Linked DNA regions of Homo sapiens: region 2 is linked to region 1. Evidence: promoter capture Hi-C in 16 types of primary human blood cells and fetal thymus (Javierre and others, 2016). All regions are on one chromosome and are shown on one strand. The core of a region is centred on a gene start or on the middle of the fragment in contact, and the rest is flanking DNA. Distances in the headings are between cores, read along the strand shown.

What was found. The method cuts DNA at HindIII sites, captures the fragments that hold promoters and counts their contacts. A CHiCAGO score of 5 or more calls a contact.
Region 2: a fragment that was not itself captured here is called in contact with the fragment with the promoter of ACTRT2 in region 1 in 4 of 17 cell types (megakaryocytes, fetal thymus, M0 macrophages and 1 more); the score reaches 11.3 in megakaryocytes.

What each region holds. Positions count from the first base shown.
Region 1 is chr1:3,020,212-3,022,718 of GRCh38, reverse strand. It overlaps ACTRT2 (actin related protein T2), which reads right to left and starts at 1,252. Exons shown (of 1, transcript NM_080431.5): 1 at 1-1,252. The coding sequence starts at 1,032. The HindIII fragment of the contact is 17,158 bases long and covers 1-2,507 here.
Region 2 is chr1:3,280,377-3,282,883 of GRCh38, reverse strand. The region is part of intron 3 of PRDM16 (PR/SET domain 16); the gene reads right to left. It overlaps LOC124903828 (collagen alpha-5(IV) chain-like), which reads right to left. Exons shown (of 2, transcript XM_047436627.1): 1 at 1-2,507. Among named protein-coding and RNA genes, the nearest start is that of MIR4251, 150 kb to the right of the region's middle. The HindIII fragment of the contact is 1,010 bases long and covers 751-1,760 here.

The sequences.
Region 1 (2,507 bases), core at 3-2,502:
TCCAATCCAGGTGGAGAACCACCGGTCGGGGGGAGCCGTGATCTTGATGGGGGTGTCCTTGGAGGCCAGCTGCTCCAGCTCCTTGAGAAGCCGGTCATCCAGCCCGTGGAACAGGGTAGTGCCCCCCGACAGCACAATCTCCCCAAAGAGGATCTTCTGGATGTCGGTATCACACTTGGTGATGCTGCTGGAGACCATATTCGAGAGCCCGGGGCTCTGGCTGCCCAGCTGCTGGGGCACGAACAGGGCCTCGGGCGCCTGGTGCAGCGGGTCCCCGAGGCTGATGATGTTCCCGTCGGGCAGCTTGTACTCCCTCAGGACCTCCTCCGGCCTCCGGGAAAGCTCCTTCTCGGGCTCCAAGGCCACGTAGCACAGCTTCTTTTTGATGTCGTCCACGAGACCCTTGTCCAGCTGGCAGGGGAAGGTGTGGCCGCTGGCCAGGAGCAGCTGCATGAGGAGCTCCGTGATGTCCCTGCCCGCCACGTGGAGCTTGGTGACTGCGTGGGGCAGGGAGTAACCCTCAAAGATGGGGACAGTGCAGGTGACCGCATCCCCGCTGTCCACCACCAGGCCCGTGACACAGGCAGAGGCGTAGAGAGCCAGCACCGCCTGGTCCGACAGGTAGAAAGCGGGCACGCCGAAGTTCTCGAACATGACTTCTGCCATCTTCTCACGGTTCTCCCTGGGGTTCAGGGAGGGCTCCGTTGCAAGCAGGGGCTGGTCGCTGGGTTTCACGCCTAGCTCCCACTCAAAGAGGTGCTTCCAGAGTCTCTCCACGTCATCCCACCCTGTGATCAGGCCACGCTCGAAAGGGGAGTGCAGCTGCAGGGCCTCCTGCTTGTACAGGGCCTCCTCCCCCACAAAGTACTTCTTCTGGTTGGCCTCTGCTGAGGGAGCCTGGAATTTCAGGTGCCCCACGATGGAGCTGACCATGTGCCGGGGTCCAAACTCCCCAGACAGGCCCGCTTTGCAGAACCCCGAGCCATTGTCAAAAATCACAGCCGGGGAGTCTAAAGCGTGCGGATTAAACATGCCCGCAGCCTTCCCTTCTCAGCCTCATCAAAATAAAGACCAGCCCTCCAGGGCCGCTTTGTGATGCAATAGGGGATCCCACAGCTCTTCCCACAGCTCTCGGGGTGTCTCAAGGCAGGGCTAGCACCGTGCCCGGGAGCCCTGCATCCTCAGCCGCAGGTCTGCTCTCCCTCCAGGTGGCCTGGGCCTGCTGAGGCCTCTTCCAGGGGGCCAGGGGGTTGTCTCCTAGGTAACAATCTAGCCAAGGCAACGATTGTCCTGAGCCTCAGAGGCCCTGGGGGTGGGGCTCTGAGTCCCCCATCCCCCACAGGGTGAGGTGAGAGAGAGAGAGAGAGACAAGTGCATCCTAGGGCGGTGCTGGACAAGCCTGTGGGCTGAGGCAGAGACTTAGCTTTAGAGTGGAGAGAAGCAGCCCAGCCTGCGTGCACCCTAGAAAACCAGCTTCTCTGGCCCCTGAGCTGCAACTTCTGGGGTGACAACACTTCCCTTTGCTAAGGGGGAAAACCAAGCACCAGGTCGGAGGGGTGTTGTAAGCAGTTCTGTCCCAGCAGGCACTTAGAATGTGCTTTTGAATAGTGATTCCCCCAGGAAGCTCTCAGGGATTTCTCCTCCCTCCATCCCATTAGTCCTGGCTGTCTGTCCCACTGGGTAGACCCTATTCAAAGCCCTCTGGGCTGCTGGCCCTTTGTCCAGGAATACATCTCTGCTCTGGCTTGAGGCCAGCACCCCTCATTCCTCTCTGCAGACTCTGAAGTGCCAGCACACAACAAAGTCCAGCAGCCATAGAGTTGGGAACCCAACAGCCCTGAAGATATGGCCTGCTGGTTTCACATGGGTAGCCTGGATTGCAGCCTGTGACACCTCTCTGTGTCTATGAGCTGCCACACAGTCAGGCCACAACCACAGAGCAATGCTCAGAGGTGACCAGGCCATTAAAGGTCAAGGCCTGAGCATGACCAGGAAGGAGGCACCGGGCCAGGCCAAGGGCACCCACAACAGTGCACGCCCGGCACTCAGACCCCCGCTTTGTCTTCCGCTTGGGGAGAAAGTGGGAGGGGATCCAACCTGGGAACCAGCTTCACTTTTTTCCTAAGGAGGTTGGAGGTGGCCTTGGAGAATGTGAGGTTTATTCTACCTCTCCTGTCATATCCACAATCATGCTCCAGCCCAGCTTGGCCCCCCAGAGTTCTCCCAGAGGACGCCTCCCGGGGTCACTCCCTTCCTGGAGCCCCTCAGCTCCTGCTGGTGGCCCCCTCTGTGTGTCCTGCCTGCCCTGCTGACCCACCAGCAGGCATTAATCCGATGGTGGTGTAGACACATGTTGTAGATGGGCAGTCTAGACACGTGGTACAGACATGTGGTGTAGACACGAGGTACAGACGCATATGGATGTGCCGTGTAGATGCATGGGATAGATGGGTGGTGTAGACACGCGCGGTACACTCGTTGTTGATGTGTGGTGTAGATGTGTCTTG
Region 2 (2,507 bases), core at 6-2,505, 260 kb before region 1:
CTACTCCTTGGAGTGACCCCGGGAGCTTGGGCTAGCGCTGGCTGCCCACCACCCTCGTGCCCCTCCGGCCACGGCTGCCTCCTGTGTCCCACGTTCGCCAGGCTTCAGACGGACAACAGTGTCTCCTCCCTAGGGAGAAAGGAAGCTGCCTGAGGAGCTTCGGAGTGGCAGTGACCAGCTCTGGTGGCCATGCTGATTCCTGGGTCTCGGGAGATGCCTGCTCTCTTGGCGAGTTTTTTCCAGACACCAAGACCAGGAAGGCTTCAGTGACCTTGGCAATAAGTCTTTCCCCATTTCCCTGAGAAGGTGACCATCCTCAGGTGGATTGAATCGTGGTGAGAGGTGTGCATGGAGCAGCATCAGGGGTATCCTCAGCTAAGTGCCCGCTGGGACAGAGCTGAGGAACAGGCTTTCCAAACCAGGGGGCCCTGCGGCGCTGGCCCCAGGTTCTGCTGAGGGTGACCCTGGCCTGTCCTAAGCCCGACAGTGGGGGGACAAGGTCTCTGGGTCGAGGACCTGTGGGGGCCAAGCAAGGAGCCCAGAGCCCCCACTCCACACACAGGCAGCGCCCTGCTAAGCCAGCTGGCAGGGCCAGCCTGTGTCTGGGGAAGGGCTGGTGCCCGGCACCTGCTGACCTCTCTGGGGAAACGTCTGCACACTGAAGCATGGCCTCCCTGAGCACATGCCTCTTCTAGAACATTCTGGGAACTCACTGCTCAGGCCTGTGAAGGGAGTCAAGGTTCGGAAGCTTTTCATGTGCAAGCCCAAAGCTGCTTCGGTGGTAAGGAGAGAGCTGGCGTCCCATACCTAGAGGCTGGACCTGGGGTTCTCAGTTCAGGTCACATGTTTGACTGAAGGGTTCATGGCTGACCTGACTGCAGCCCAAGGCCTTTCCTGCAGGCCAGCACTCCTTCTAGAACACCCCTCCACATCCAGGGCTGCGGGCGCCCACCTTGGCCTCATGCCAGCTCCAGGCAGACTGGGGCTCCAGTCTCCCTGAGCACCCTGCACCCCCTGGTACAGGGATGGCGTCTGCCTGCTCCTTATCCCTGGTTTCCTGAAAGCAACTCATCGATCGGACCATAGCTCATCAATCAATCCGGCCATAGCTAATCTGTGAATCCAACCATAGCTCATCAATGAACCCAATCAGAGCACATCAAACCGATCATAGCTAGTCAATCAATCTGGTCATAGCTCGTCAATGAATCCAACCATAGCTCATCAATGAACCTGATCACAGAACATCAGTCTGATCATAGCTCATCAATCAATCTGGTCATAACTCATCAATGAATCTAACCATAGCTCATCAGTGAACCCAATCAGAGCACATCAAACCGATCATAGCTAATCAATCAATCTGATCATAGCTCATCAATCTGATCATGCTAAGTTGTGAATGACTGATAAGTTTCAAGGCTGCTTCTCTCAAGGAGATTGGTGTTTTATTGGCAGGCACAGGAATGATCCCTATTTCGATTTCATATAGTGGACACCTACTTATTTCTAAATGACCATGGCTGGGGTGGGCGTCTCAGTGCCAGCCTGGTCTGGAGCACAGGTGGAGGGTTCTGGCCACCGGCAGCTGTAGGAAGGGAGCGTCTCAGCAGCCAGGCCTCCTCCTGGGCGACAGTGCCCACAGCTGCGTTCTCAGGTAGGGGCTGGGTGTGAGCCAGCAAGGCAGATGGCAACGTTTCGAGTTGAAGAGGACATCTGGGCATCTTGCAGCATCCTCCTAGGGCCCAGTTTCTCAAGCTTCTTGACAGTCCAGAATGCCAATGGCCCCACTTTTGAGACAGTGGGCTGAGGCTGGACAGGTGCAGGGACTTGCCCGGTGTTGAACAACCACCCAGGGAAGGAGGCCCAGGCAGTGCTGTCCTCAGCCCAGAGCCAACCTCGCTGGGCAGCCACTCGGCCTCCCAGATTCAGAACTGGGGAGAAAACAAAACCCATGGATGGAGATTTGACAAAAGCCCTGGGGGCTCCGCATTGTTTCTGACCAAATTTCCCTGCCCCTGCCCCAGGGGCTGTGAGAACCCCACTTTGATTTCTCCTGGGCAGAGACCCCTTGGAGACAGGGTGGGTATGGCCCGGGACGGCCAGTCTAGCCTGCTTCTCACTTCACCTAGGAACGGGTCTTTCTCAAGGTTCCCTTTCATTCACATTTACTGTTTTCAAAGCTAAGCAACAGCCTTCATGCCTCAGAGAAGGTCTTAGTTCTTAGTTGGTGCCAGTGTGACCTTAACGCCACAGACCTTGCTGGGGTGAGAGGTGGGTTCTTCCAGCTGCCTCCAGGCTCCAGGTGGGAGTCGAGGGAGGCGATGGAAGGCCTGAGGTGGGAAGGACGGACCTTGTTGGAATGTACGCCGTCCCTCCGCACATGAAACTCTGGCTTTTCTCTGGTGTGAGGTTGGACGCTGGCAGTAAGGGTGGGGGGACTCAGGCAGAAAACCACTTCCTCTGTGTGCAAACAGAGAACTCTGCACCCTCCCAGATATACCTGC